Linked DNA regions of Homo sapiens: all the other regions are linked to region 4. Evidence: promoter capture Hi-C in 16 types of primary human blood cells and fetal thymus (Javierre and others, 2016). All regions are on one chromosome and are shown on one strand. The core of a region is centred on a gene start or on the middle of the fragment in contact, and the rest is flanking DNA. Distances in the headings are between cores, read along the strand shown.

The links. The method cuts DNA at HindIII sites, captures the fragments that hold promoters and counts their contacts. A CHiCAGO score of 5 or more calls a contact.
Region 1: a contact is called between a fragment that was not itself captured here and the fragment with the promoter of NPAS4 in region 4, in 1 of 17 cell types (erythroblasts). The highest score is 7.1, in erythroblasts.
Region 2: a contact is called between a fragment that was not itself captured here and the fragment with the promoter of NPAS4 in region 4, in 1 of 17 cell types (M1 macrophages). The highest score is 5.2, in M1 macrophages.
Region 3: a contact is called between the fragment with the promoter of RCE1 here and the fragment with the promoter of NPAS4 in region 4, in 1 of 17 cell types (erythroblasts). The highest score is 5.2, in erythroblasts.
Region 5: a contact is called between a fragment that was not itself captured here and the fragment with the promoter of NPAS4 in region 4, in 2 of 17 cell types (erythroblasts and M1 macrophages). The highest score is 7.1, in erythroblasts.

Annotation. Positions count from the first base shown.
Region 1 is chr11:66,801,058-66,803,809 of GRCh38, forward strand. TOP6BL (TOP6B like initiator of meiotic double strand breaks) reads left to right here. Exons shown (of 15, transcript NM_001302084.2): 6 at 1-45. Among named protein-coding and RNA genes, the nearest start is that of RCE1, 41 kb to the right of the region's middle. The HindIII fragment of the contact is 3,787 bases long and covers 1-2,752 here.
Region 2 is chr11:66,691,996-66,694,695 of GRCh38, forward strand. It overlaps SPTBN2 (spectrin beta, non-erythrocytic 2), which reads right to left. Exons shown (of 38, transcript NM_006946.4): 22 at 2,144-2,368; 23 at 1,777-1,866; 24 at 1,191-1,451; 25 at 975-1,105; 26 at 541-745. Among named protein-coding and RNA genes, the nearest start is that of RBM4B, 15 kb to the left of the region's middle. The HindIII fragment of the contact is 9,386 bases long and covers 1-2,700 here.
Region 3 is chr11:66,842,103-66,844,898 of GRCh38, forward strand. It overlaps RCE1 (Ras converting CAAX endopeptidase 1), which reads left to right and starts at 1,339. Exons shown (of 8, transcript NM_005133.3): 1 at 1,339-1,538; 2 at 1,657-1,759; 3 at 1,854-1,937; 4 at 2,184-2,262; 5 at 2,767-2,796. The coding sequence starts at 1,354. TOP6BL (TOP6B like initiator of meiotic double strand breaks) reads left to right here. Exons shown (of 15, transcript NM_001302084.2): 14 at 747-967; 15 at 1,067-1,414. The coding sequence ends at 1,132. RefSeq lists silencers at 880-1,019, 1,130-1,569 and an enhancer at 1,210-1,916. The HindIII fragment of the contact is 21,944 bases long and covers 1-2,104 here.
Region 4 is chr11:66,419,699-66,422,398 of GRCh38, forward strand. NPAS4 (neuronal PAS domain protein 4) reads left to right here and starts at 1,337. Exons shown (of 8, transcript NM_178864.4): 1 at 1,337-1,656; 2 at 2,422-2,573. The coding sequence starts at 1,482. RefSeq lists an enhancer at 1,383-1,979 and silencers at 1,912-2,226, 1,920-2,214. The HindIII fragment of the contact is 6,351 bases long and covers 1,059-2,700 here.
Region 5 is chr11:66,819,399-66,822,098 of GRCh38, forward strand. It overlaps TOP6BL (TOP6B like initiator of meiotic double strand breaks), which reads left to right. Exons shown (of 15, transcript NM_001302084.2): 10 at 2,245-2,366. Among named protein-coding and RNA genes, the nearest start is that of RCE1, 23 kb to the right of the region's middle. The HindIII fragment of the contact is 3,144 bases long and covers 1-2,700 here.

The DNA of each region.
Region 1 (2,752 bases), core at 134-2,633, 380 kb after region 4:
TGGGAATGGAATTGCTCTTTTGGTCGACTCCCAGCATTATGTGAGGTGAAGGCGTAAAGCCTTGTTGTCCCTCTGCATGTTTTACTCTCCTCTCGAGTACGAATGTGGGTAGAAATTGGAAATTGTCTCACTTGTCATTTGTAAGTGCCAGGTGTCAGCTTCTCTATAAGAAAAGCAGAAGTAAAACTTTTTTTTATGTTGAAAACTGCTATTTTAAGTTATTTATGTATTTGAATCTATTCTAAATGACCTGAAGACATGTGCCTTCTTCTCTTCAGGCCTTATTTTACACAGACCCTGCTAGTTCCAATCCCATTTAGGCATGAGAAGAGAAGACTATGAATTTAAAACTTTACTTGAATTCTTGGCTAGAGAGATAGTATGAATACAAAGGAATTCAGTGTACATTATTTTCTGTGCATCAGCATTTTGCATAGGTTTGGAAATCATCTCTCTGCCCATCTCCATCTTCTTCAGACTCCAAGAAAGTAAATCTGGCCAGGCGCAGTGGCTCATGCCTATAATCCCAGCACTTTGGGAGGCTGAAGTTGATGGATCACTTGAGGTTAAGAGTTTGAGACCAGCCTGGCCAACATGGCAAAACCCTGTCTCTGCTAAAAATACAAAAATTAGCTGGGCATGGTAGCACATGCCTGTAATCCCAGCTACTTGGGAGGCCAAAGCATGAGAATCACTTGAACCCAGGAGGTGGAGGTTGCAGTGAGCCGAGATCACGCCACTGCACTCCAGCGACAGAGCAAGACTCTGTCTCAAAAAAAATAAATAAATAAAAAATGTAAAAAATCCATGGAGGAGGTGGTAAACAATATGGAACACACAGAGCCCTTCTGTCTTGCCTTCCTGTGCCATTTAACTACCACAGAATCCAAAGTGAAAATGAATTATGTCAAGAAAAGACCTAACATATGCTTAAGTCCAATTAATTTATTTTTTCTTTTTTTGAGACAGGGTCTCAGTCTGTTCAACCCAGATGCCATCATAGCTCACTGCAGCCTTGGTCTCCTGGGCTCAAGTCATTTTCCCACCTCAGCCTCTCGAGTAGCTAGTAGCTAGGACCACAGAAATATGCTACCATACGCTGCTAATTTTTTTTTTTTTTGAGACGGAGTCTCGCTCTTTCGCCCAGGCTGGAGTGCAGATCTCACCTCACTGCAACCTCCACCTCCCTGGTTCAAGCGATTCTCCTGCCTCAATCTCCTGAGTAGCTGGGACTATAGGTGCATGCCACCACGCCCAGCTAATTTTTTTGTATTTTTAGTAGAAATGGGGTTTCACCATGTTGGCCAGGATGGTCTCAATCTCCTGACCTCGTGATCCTCCTGCCTCGGTCTCCCAAAGTGCTGAGATTACAGGCATGAGCCACTGCGCCCAGCCCATATACTGCTAATTTAAAAAAAATTTTTTTTTGTAGAGATGAGGTTGTTGCCTAGGCTGGTGTCAAACTCCTGGACTCAAGCAATCCTCCTGCCTCGGCCTTTCAAAGAGCTGGGATTACAGATGTGAGCCAATGTGTCCAGCCCTAATTTAGTCTTTATTCATTAGTTTCTGCCTCTATTTATGTGCCCAGAGGCAACACTAGTAGTCAAAGTCTCTTAAGGCTTAAAGAGACTGCCTGTGGTTCTTAGTCTGTTTTCTTATTCTCACCCAAAATTACACCTCAGATGAGAATATTTTTGTCATTTAATATGCAGGTAATAATTTCCCCACCCCATATCTTTCTTTAGTGATCCTCTAATAATAAACAATCCTTACAGGTAGCAGCTCATCATCATAGTTGTACTGACACAAGTTTAAGCCTTTGAGCCAATTTTTGTAGATGTGTTTCCTTGGATGACCTGATTAGAGACAAAGGGAAAGGTTCATTAATATTTCCTCTCTATTAATTAATTCATTCATTCTTAATCAGCTTTCTCAGGTTGACTGTTTTCTCTCTGTTTAGAAAAGAGCTATTGGAAAGTAACAAAATTTTACTAGATTCTTTCTAGGAGAGAAAGATGGCCTGGTTTTTTCTCATTGTTACTATCAAACAGCAACCTCAGACCTCTTCAGCGGAAGGTGTAGCATGCGTGAGAGCAGACTTATAAGTATCATGGGGCCAGTTTTAGGCCATTTGTGATTCATGGGCCCCCTCACACAATGCTGACCTTTGAATGAATTTGGAAATTTGCTCAGAACCAAAGATTAATTTTAGTGGAGGAAGTATACTTGAGAATAAGAAACAGGCTGGTCATGATATCTCACACCTGTAGTCCCAGCACTTTGGGAGGCCAAGGCAGAAAGATTGCTTGAGGCCAGGAGTTTGAGACCAGCCTAATAAACATAGTGAGACCCCATCTCTAATAAAATAAAATAATAGTAATTATTTTTCGAGACAAAGTCTCGCTCTGTTGCTCAGGCTGGAGTGCAGTGGCGCAATATCAGCTCACTGCAACCTCCGCTTCCCAGGTTCAAGCGATTCTCCTGCCTCAGCCTCCTGAATAGCTGGGATTACAGGTGTGCACCATCATGCACAGCTATTGTATCTTTAGTAGAGATGGAGTTTCACCATGTTGGCCAGGTTGGTCTTGAACTCCTGACCTCAAGTGATCCACCCACCTCAGCCTCCCAAAGTGCTGGGATTACAGGCATGAGCCACAATGCCTGGTCTAAAATGTTTTTTTAAAAAGAGAAACTAAGAAGCATCCGTTAGTGGCAGCAAAAGCAGGAGCAATGATATCTCTGAAATGCCAGT
Region 2 (2,700 bases), core at 108-2,607, 270 kb after region 4:
ATTCTGTTGAAAAGTGTGAGTGATAATTTCCTGTTTGCCCTTGTCTCAGCTCAGCTTCATGTCCCCTTTCTGTACAATTCTTCAAATTGTGTGTGTGTGTATGTATTTAGAGATGATAGGGTCTTGCTCTGGAGTGCACTAGCGCAATCACTGCAGTGTCGACCTCCCAGGCTCAAGAGATCCTCCCACCTCAGCCTCCTAAGTAGTTGGGCCTACAGGCATGCACGGCTGTGCCTGGCTAATAAAAAAAAATTTTTTTTGTAGAGATGGGGGGTCTCACTATGTTGCCCAGGCTGGTCTTGAACTCCTGGACTCAAGCAATCCTCCCATCTCAGCCTCCCAAGGTGCTAGGATTACAGGTGTGAGCCTATGCCCGGCCTCTTCAAATCATATACCTCAAAACCAGGAGGACAGTGCCTGCTCAGCCTGGTCTTGCCCCTTAGCCCCTCAGTGCTCTGCCTGGGACTAGGTCCTAGTCTCCCTGTGGGTCCTCCACTCTTCCCACGGTTGATCTGAGCTGGGTGCCCTCCCTACACTCACAGTCACATGCTCGTAGTCCTGGCCCAGCTCGTGGGAGGCCGCCACCACCTCGCGCTCCTGGATCCACTGTTCCAGGTCATCCAGCTCGCGGCGGAGCTGGCACAGCCGGAGGTGCTCCTGCAGGCGCTCCCGCCGCTCTCCAGCCAGCTCCTTCAGGCCGGCATACAGCTTGTCCACCTGGGCTTGGCGGATGGATATCCGAGTGCTGCAAGAAGAGTGAGGGAGGCACTGTGGGACTTAGGGGTGTAGCTCTGACCTCCGGTCTGTTCTGTGGAGCCCTGTCCCTCTGAGTCTCCCAACAGCTCGCCCACCCTGTGTTCCAGCTTTCTAGAAGGCTCCGTGCACACAGCACTGAAGGCTCCACATTCCCTGCACCTTCCTGTTCCTGCAGCCGGCTCCACCCCCAGGCTGGGCCGGGCTGCCGCTGCACCCACCTCTCTGGGTGCTCGTGGTCAATCATGTCCTGGCTGCTGGCCGCCAGCTGGTGGATGGTCTGCGCGTAGTCGGCCAGGGCTTGCTCCAGCACCTGGTGCTTCTTCACCTCTGCCTGGGCACTCAGCTCATCCTGGGGGAAGGGACAGTGGCATCCAGCATCAGGTCAGGGGAGGGCAGAACTGGTCACATACACTGGGCTCTGTCCTGGCCCTCACCTTGGCCTTCTCCTGGCCCATCATGTGTAATTCCTGCTCGCCCATCCAGGCCTCCGCCTCGGCGGCATCGCGGTAGAACTGCTGGGCTCGCAGGGCATCCTCCAGTCGCTTCCCTCGAAGTTCCAGCTCGTGGCCCAGGCGTTTCCACATTTCCTGCAGCTCAGCCAGCTCTGGACCTGCTGCTGCTGCACCTAGAGCACGCTGCCGCTCCCTCAGGTCCGCGATCCGGGGCTCATGGCCCTGAATCTCTTTCTGCAGGGTCTGCCCATGGCCACAGAAGAGAAAATGCTGAAAGTCCTGCCCCAGCCCCACGTGCTCCCGGAGACCACCCTTCACCCCTGTGCCTCTCTCCTTCCTGGGTCCTCTGCTCCCTCTCCTAGCCTGGGGGTGCGATGGTAACACCCGTCAGCCGCCCAGCCCCCACTATCTCCTACTGAGAGGACCCACCCTCCCAAGGTGAGGAAAGACAGCCACTGAAGTCCAGGGTTACACTCAGCATCGAGGGGGGCCTGGTCTTAAGAAAAAACACGTCCAAGTCTGGGCAGGCTCCTGGGAACTTCTCTTTTGCCTTCAGCCTCTGCCTCACCTGGTTTTTCTTCATGAGAAGCTGGACGCTGGGCAGGTCCTTGCCATGCTCCATGGAGCTGGCCATGGGCAGCCGCTCTGTCACCCACAACTGGAAGAGGAAGAGGGGGTCAGTGGAGGCCCAGAGGGCAAGGCAAGCAGCAGGGACTGATTAGTGGGAGTGGGGACACCTGGGGCTACCGCCCTGTGTGTGGGGAACAGTCATCTCTGGTTCTGGGAGGCATCTCCAAGTCTCCCTATAGGGGAGATGGTCAATGCCAAAGAGAAGAGGGAATAGAGCCCTGCTGGCATCTCCCTGGCATCCAGGAGGGAGGCTGGAGAACCACATGGCTGGGGGCAGCTTGCCGTCCTTGGCCCCAGTGACTCACAATCTCATCTTCCACATCGCGGTGGAACTGGTGCTGCTCGCGAGAAGCCTGCAGGCGCCGGCAGCGTTCCCGCATGGGCTGGCACAAGGCCCTGAACTTCTCCTCCACGGCCCTCGAGGTTCTCTCCACCTCCCCTGCACCCTGGTCCTCCTGGGCCAGTGCTTTGGCCTGGGCCTGGATTGCCTCCACCTCCTTCTCTCTCACAGCCATCTCCCATTCCAGCATCTGCAAACCGCCAGGAGGAAGGACATGTTAGCTCTGCATTTCCGCCTTCATGCCCAGCAGAGACACCAACCAGTCTCTATCCAGCCCACTGTGGCTGCTCATCACTGCAGCTCACCCAGGGAGAGCATCCCCTCATGGGCTGGATCAGTGGATCTCGAACTTTATATGCACAAGAATCCAAGGGCAGGGGTTGAAAAAATCCCTATTGGGTACTGTGCTCACTACATGGGTGATGGGTTCAATTACACCCCAAACTTCAGCATCACACAATATAACTTATAACAAACCTGCACCCACACCCGCGAATCTAAAAGATTGAAATTAAAAAATCC
Region 3 (2,796 bases), core at 89-2,588, 420 kb after region 4:
TGAGGCAGTAGGATCGCTTGAGCCCAGGAGGTCGAGGCTGCAGTGAGCCAGGACTGAGCCACTGCACTCCAGCCTGGGCAACAGAGCAAGACCTTGTCTCAAAAAAACAAAAGGTCAGCTCAGGTATCTCCTCATGGAAACCCTTCTTCACATCCAGAGGTGGTCGGCTTCCTTCTCTATTCTAACCCTGGGCTTTGTACACAGGTCTGCATCCCCTCCTAGCATCTGTGAGCTTCTCTCAGGGAAAAGCTCATTGATCTGCATCCCCAAGACCTGCTGGGGAAGAATCTATCCATCTAAACTCGCTTTAATTTGACAAATGAATCAGTTAAGAGTAGGAAAGCTGCCTATGGGCACTGCTCAATGCAACGTGAGCAACAAAGGGAGACAGAACTGAGGCCAGAAAGGTGAGGGGGGACAGAGGCTGGCAGGGAGGGGAGCTTGTCAGTGCAGACTCCAGGAAGAATCTATACAGAAAGTTACTGAGCGGCCTGAGTCCCCCAAGTGAGGGCTCGGGACAATCTCCCGCCTGGGTGAGAGAATAGGGAGACCCTGAAACGTCTCTGCAGCCTCGGGCTGCTCCAGAAGCGCCCACAGCTGCAGGGTTTTGGTGTGGATGGGACCTGCTGACAGGGATGCGGTGGGAAGAGCCCCTCGGCGCCCGTTCTCCCAGGCTTCCCCTTGGCCAAGGGTGCTCCTAGCACAGGGCCATGAAAGTAAGATGAAGAGGCTTGTTTTTCTCCTAGATACCAGCGGGCAAGCAGAAAACAAGAGGCTCAAGAGGGGCAGCCCCCGCATAGAGGAGATGCGAGCTCTGCGCTCTGCCAGGGCCCCGAGCCCGTCAGAGGCCGCCCCGCGCCGCCCGGAAGCCACCGCGGCCCCCCTCACTCCTAGAGGAAGGGAGCACCGCGAGGCTCACGGCAGGGCCCTGGCGCCGGGCAGGGCGAGCCTCGGAAGCCGCCTGGAGGTAACTGGGCGAGGGCCGCGCAGGGAAGGGCTCAGCAGGAGGTGCAGGCCACGGGCCGCTGCTGAGAGGTCCTCACCCCGGGCCCCCTTGTTCCCGCAGGACGTGCTGTGGCTGCAGGAGGTCTCCAACCTGTCAGAGTGGCTGAGTCCCAGCCCTGGGCCCTGAGCCGGGTCCCCTTCCGCAAGCGCCCACCGATCCGGAGGCTGCGGGCAGCCGTTATCCCGTGGTTTAATAAAGCTGCCGCGCGCTCACCAAGTCCTCTTCCGCGTCTGCTTCCGCGTCGGGCCCGGGCGGGGCGGGGCGGGGCGTGGAGCCGCGCCGCGGCCTGACGTCACCCACACCTCCCTGGGACTGCGTCACTGGTGCGCGCCGCGGGTCAGGGCGCAATGGCGGCGCTGGGCGGGGATGGGCTGCGACTGCTGTCGGTGTCGCGGCCGGAGCGGCCGCCCGAGTCGGCGGCGCTGGGCGGCCTGGGCCCCGGGCTGTGCTGCTGGGTGTCAGTGTTCTCCTGCCTCAGCCTCGCCTGCTCCTACGTGGGCAGCCTCTACGTCTGGAAGAGCGAACTGCCCAGGTGCGGGGGCTGCGCGCGACCGGAATCCGCGCCCTGCGGGCGGAGCTTGGGCGAGCCGGGGGCGGGTCCGTGCTCATGGGCAGCCGCGGGCCCCCTGAACTTACTGTCCCCTCCGTAGGGACCATCCCGCGGTCATCAAGCGACGCTTCACCAGCGTCCTGGTGGTGTCCAGTCTCTCACCCCTGTGCGTGCTGCTCTGGAGGGAACTCACAGGCATCCAGGTGCGAAGGAGGCGGGGCAAAGGGCAACGGCGGTGAGAGCTCAGGGGTCTTTAGGGGAGGAAGCAAAACTGATGCCCCCTTTCCTGTGGCTCAGCCAGGCACATCCCTGCTCACCCTGATGGGCTTCAGGCTGGAGGGCATTTTCCCAGCGGCGCTGCTGCCCCTGTTGCTGACCATGGTGAGTGCTCCTGCTGTATTTTTTCTTCTGGTCTTTGTTATCAGCCTGATGGGCAGTGCCGTGGACTCTTGTTTTTGGTTTTTGGTTGATGGGAGACAGGACTTTTGAGATGGCCCCAGGGTCCTCCGGTATGCATGGTCTGGAAATCGTGGCTGGAGAGGATTTCAAGCTTGGAGTCTCAGGGAGCATGGGCAAAGGTCTGGGCAAAAGCGGTGGGTTATGGTGAAAGTGTTTTCTTGCCCTCAGATTCTTTTCCTGGGCCCACTGATGCAGCTCTCTATGGATTGCCCTTGTGACCTGGCAGATGGGCTGAAGGTTGTCCTGGGTGAGTCTTAAAGGCTGAAGGGAAAAGTAGGCACAGGCAGTCCAGGACATTGGGGCAGGGAGTCAGCGGGCTCAGGGTGTGATCTGGACACGTGAAATGTCATCTCTCTGGGTGTGTTTTCTCATCAGTAAAATGGAAACATAGAGCTAGGTGGCCTCTAAGGGTTGATTGCCAACGTCCAAGGAGTTCCCTGGGAACCCCCAGCAGTATTTGGTGTGGATCAGAGAGCACTGTCCCCTGCTTCCCCAACCAGAGCTAGTCTTGCTTAAATTTTGGTGTCTCCAGAGTTTACTTCCAGGATGCCCTTGCCTCAGCTAATGCCTTCCATTCAGGTCATCTCAAGACATTGGGTTTATGTTGGGTCCACACCCCCGTCCTCAGCAGTATTGATGCCTAACCTGAGTTTGGCCAGGGTAAAGTTGTGGGAGAGGAGCCCTTGGAGCCTCTGGGGTCTCACTGTCTGACAGCCCGTCACTCACAGCTTGTCCTGAATTCCCTCTGCAGCCCCCCGCTCCTGGGCCCGCTGCCTCACAG
Region 4 (2,700 bases), core at 87-2,586:
GGGGGGTGGGGATAGGGCAAAGGTGACAGGATATGAAAAGGATAGAAAAGGATATGAAAGGACAGAAAAAGAAACGAAGGTGGAAAGTGGAGAGCTGAAGGTGGAGAGGCAGAGCCAGGAGCCTTAGAGGCGCAAATGTGGAGAGGGGTGGAGGGAACCTGGCAAAAATACAGGGTCCCTGGTAGGTGCAGGGGTCATGGAGGGTCCGGCGCTGCCCCTTCGCTTCTCAGCTGCTCCCCCATCTTGCCCGCCTAGGCAGGGCGGGGAGCCCTCCGGAGCGGTGCGGAGGCAGCCAGGCCCCGCCCGCCGCAGCCGCGGCAGCCGCCGGAGGATTCCTGTCCTAATATGGAGCTGGGATTCCCCCGGCCCCGCCCCCGCCCCCGGCCCGCGGGGAGACAGAGGCTGGCAGCAGGGCGGGGGGAAGCGCTCGCTTGGGGGCCGGCAACGGGGGGAAGGGATGCCTAAGTGCAGACCCAGGTCCTCGCCGTGCCCCCACGTCCCTGCCTCAGTTTCCCCTTCAGTAAGGTTAATTAGCTGAGAGGGAAACCACGAATCACTGCAGACTACAGCGCTGATGTTGGTTTCTATTCTTGGCTGTGGGAAAACAGGATCAACGCCAAATTCAGCTGGTCCCTTTCCCACCGGACTCCCTTTCCACCCATCCTCGGGACTTAGACCCCCATGAACACCCCCTGATAAGCCGCCAAGGCCCGATTTGGGAAGCGGGGGCGGGAATTTGTTCTCTAAAAATGGCCAAGGGAATCCCAGGTTAAATAGTCCCCAGAGAGGAACCCCAGCAGTGACCTGTCCCACGGAGGCCAAGGAAAGTCCTCCTTCCCTGCATGTGAACGTGACCTTGTCTGTCAAGTAACGAGGGGGATTTGTAGACAACCCTGTTCTTCCCCATTCCCTCAACTCCTCAGAAAAATTAGTGTCAGTGCCGGCCCCTCTCTGCCCTCTGCGGACTCCTGCCGCGGGCTTCAGGCCGCCCTAAACCTGGCCCTGTCGCTTCCCTCAACTGAACGCATTCAGACGCCAGGGTCCCCACACTCCATTCAAGCTTTCCTAACGCAGCGCCTTCCTCTCCGCTCAGCTCCCGCCAGGCTTGGCCCCCTCCGCAGCCTCCTGCTCCCCCCTCGCCCGCCTCCCTCCCTCTCTCATTCTACGTCATGAGATGACGTCGGAAGCCGGGCGGGAGGAGGAGCCCCCCTCCCCAGTCAGCGGCTCCCGCTGCAGCTTGCTTAGCCCAGCCTCCCGCTCTCCCGCCCCCCCGGCTCTAAAACGAGCCCCCCACGCCTGGCAGGAGCTATATAAGGCGGCGTGAGGCAGGCGAGGGGGGCAGCGCAGCCGAGCGGAGCCCAGGAGAGCAGAGAGCGAGCCTGAGCGAGAGACGGGGAAGCACGGAGGAGGAAGCCGCCGGTGCGTCGGGACGGGAGCGCAGGTGCTCGGGCACCCGAGCTGGAGCTCCGCAGCCGCCGGTCATGTACCGCTCCACCAAGGGCGCCTCCAAGGCGCGCCGGGACCAGATCAACGCCGAGATCCGGAACCTCAAGGAGCTGCTGCCGCTGGCCGAAGCGGACAAGGTCCGGCTGTCCTACCTGCACATCATGAGCCTCGCCTGCATCTACACTCGCAAGGGCGTCTTCTTCGCTGGTGGTGAGCATGCTGGGGCTACCGCAGATCCGAGCTGCCAGGCGCCGGAGACCCTGGAGCTGAGGGAACCCGCTGGGGCTGTCGCATGTCTAGGGCAGCGTGCTGGCGAGCTGGGGAGATTCGGGACTCGGGAGATTCGGGACTTTCTACTTTTCCTCCTGAGCTCCCTCCAGACCTCACCTTAGTTCTGAATGAGAGTTAGAGAGCCTGGACGGTGTCCCTAACACCAGATTATGAGAGGATAAGAGCCAGGACAGAGCGGCCTCGGTGCCCGCCAGTGCAGAAGCGCTCCGGGAGCCGGGGAGGGAAGCCCGGGAAGTTGCAGGGATGGAGCTGCCTGAGCCTAGGGGAACATAGCTACTGTCCGCGGTGCTGAAAGGGATCTCCTGTCGCCTTCGGGGCGCTGCCCATGGTGCTGACGGCTGCGCCGGCCGTGTATGGCTCTGTCCATGGTTCTGAACCCACAGTCGGCTTCGGAGCTCTGTCCGCGGTTCTGAAATTCAGAGCCGCTTTGGAGCTCTGTCCGCGGTTCTGAAATTAAGAGCCGAGAGGAGCCGACCCCGCTTTAGAAGTCGAGGGCTTGTGGGCTATGGAGATACAGCAACAGGTTCCCTGGCCAAGAGCTGCGGGCAGCGGGTCAACAGGTGTTTGCAGAGGCAGGTCCATGAGAAATTCCTCTGGATTCTCTGAAACTCAGACCATGCCTTCCTCACTTCTTCTCTGCCTCCCAGTCTTACTCCTGACGCACTACGTCTTCTCGCCCTACAGGCACTCCTCTGGCGGGCCCCACGGGGCTTCTCTCAGCTCAAGAGCTTGAGGACATCGTAGCGGCACTACCCGGCTTTCTGCTTGTGTTCACAGCCGAGGGGAAATTGCTCTACCTGTCTGAGAGTGTGAGCGAGCATCTGGGCCACTCCATGGTGAGTGCTAAGGGTCCTTTCAGCTGAGGCTGGGCATGGAGTGGGTGCCGTGAGCCTTCCACTCCTGAGGAACTGGGAATTACTATGGAGGGAGAGGTTATACCCTACAAGATACTGTAGATCAAAG
Region 5 (2,700 bases), core at 43-2,542, 400 kb after region 4:
ACTATGGAAAATACCAATCTAGATGATACATTAACATAGCAATAGCAATATTTTGAAACTGTACAGTGTACATTTCAAAACACTTCATGGGCTAGGCACTGTGGCTTGGCTCCTGTAATCCCAATACTTTGAGGGGCCAAAGCAGGAGGACCGCTTGAGCCCAAGAGTTCAAGACCAGCTCGGGCAACACAGCGAGACCTCGTCTCTACATATACAAATTTGCCCGGGCATGGTCCCTCACACCTGTAATCCCAGCACTTTGGGAGGCCGAGGCGGGCGGATCACACTGAGGTCAGGAGTTTGAGACCAGTCTGGCCAACATGGCGAAACCCCGTCTCTACTAAAAATACAAAAATTAGCTGGGTGTGGTGGCAGGCGCCTGTAATCCCAGCTACTCGGGAGGCTGAGGCAAGATAATCACTTGAATCCAGGAGGCGGAGGTTGCAGTGAGCCGAGATCACGCCATTGCACTCCAGCTCGGGCAACAAGAGCAAAACTCTTGTCTTAAAAAAAAAAAAAAAAAAAAAATTGGCCAGGCATGGTGGTGGTGTACACCTGTGGTCCCAGCTATTCGGGAGGCTGAGGTGGGAGGATCACTTGAGCCCCGGTGGTCGAGGCTGCAGTGAGCCAAGATCGTGTCACTGCACTCCAGGCTGGGCAACAAAACCCACAAAACACTTTGTGTACATTATCGCAGTTTATCTACACAACATACCTGTGAGAGCAGGTGGTATAAAGCCATTTTCTATACTGAAGAAAAGATTTCATCACCACTAGTTGATGGCAGAATTGGCCCTAGAATCTATGTTCTCCCTGACTCCAGCTCCAGAATCCTTTTGAGCTTACCATATATTACGTTCCCTACCAGGAAAGGATCATGGTGCCTTGTGGTAGAAAATGTTCTTCTGGTTTGCATTTTTAATACAGTCCTGGAAAAAGCCAGCCAGTTTTAGGCTGCTTCCCATAGAATTCTGAACACTGAAAACAAAGAATAATCAAGAAGGATTTTCTCCAGGTGACCTGTAAATTTGGCTTCCTGTGCCTGCTGCATCGGGATCATTAAATGGTGGCCTATTGTTTGATGGCATAGTTTTTTTGCCTGTTGCTCTCACATATTAGCTTTTCTGAATGAGACTGAGCAGTGGTGCCTGTGGTTACTTTAACAGAGATAATCTCCCATTTAAAAGGACCTCATACCAACAGTTCTGTGTCATCTCTGTGAATTTTAACCTTTTCTTTACCACAGTACGTCTGAAAGCACTGCCACAACAGTGATGTTCACATAGACGTAGAGTAGGGTTAGACACACTCTATAGGACCTTTGCTTCTCCCTTTCTCCTCTCCTTTGGGAGTCACTGGGATTGTTGTTTATAGTACATGGTATATATTTCTGCTATGAATTAAACAGGATCCCTTATTTGTTTCTTTAAAAAATAATGTCATTCTCCACCTTAATTTTCCTGAGCTTTCTTAGATTTATGAGTGGGAATTAGGTAGGTGTGTAAGTTGCTGGGAGATTTTGTCTAAAAAAAGGTAATTATTTGTGGATATGTAGGGGTCTCTTCTTCCAAGAGGCATCTTTCCCACTCCCAGTCCTGACTCAAAGCACATGAACAGCAATCTTGAAGTAGTTATCCTCGCTCATGGTTAATCCTTGGATAATGCAAGCCTGATACCATGTTCTGAGCCCTACTGAACATTTCTAAAGAACTCGGATTCCTCAGAAACCAGTGTTATCATTCCTGAACTACTGTGATAATTTGTACACCTCTGTTTAGCTTGATTCTGAGGGCCTGCAGTATCTCAGTCGTTGTACTCAGTATTGGATTTAAAAGAAATTCATCAGTGTATTAGTAAACAAGTGTCTTAAATCTTACACATCTGGTAATTTTTTTTTTTTTTTTTTTGAGACGGAGTCTCACTCTGTCACCCAGGCTGGAGCGCAGTGGCACAATCTTGGCTCACTGCAAGCTCCGCCTCCCGGGTTCACGCCATTCTCCTGCCTCAGCCTCCCGAGTAGCTGGGACTACAGGTGCCCGCCACCGTGCTTGGCTAATTTTTTGTATTTTTAGTGGAGACGGGGTTTCACCGTGGTCTCGATCTCCTGACCTCGTGATCCGCCCGCCTCGGCCTCCCAAAGTGCTGGGATTACAGGCCACATCTGGTAATTTAAGACTAGCTTTTGCAGATGCACAGTGAGGGGAGGTAGATATAGTGATAATTTTACCTTCTCCCTCCCCTTAGGAGTCTATACTTTGCTCACAACTCATCTCAATGCCATCCTTGTGGAGAGCCACAGTGTAGTGCAAGGTTCCATCCAATTCACTGTGGACAAGGTCTTGGAGCAACATCACCAGGCTGCCAAGGTAATAAGGAATTCACAGCCTCTTTTCTCCTATTCTCTAAGAAAAAGATAGCAAGCATATATGGCAGGCAGGGCCCAGGAGCCCTTCCTCCCTTAATGCCCCTTCCTCTCCTCTTCTGTCACCTGGGTGATCTTGTAACACTGCATCTAGCCTACAACTCAAACTTTAGCTTAGATGGATCACTGTAACCAGCTTGCTTAGTCTTACCTCCTAGTAGGTGTGTTTGGGTAAATAGGGAAATAGTTAATAGGGAAAAATGGCTGATAACACACCTCTTCCTTATGCATATAATTCCCCTTCCCACACAGACTTCTGGAGCTGCTGTTTCGCTGTG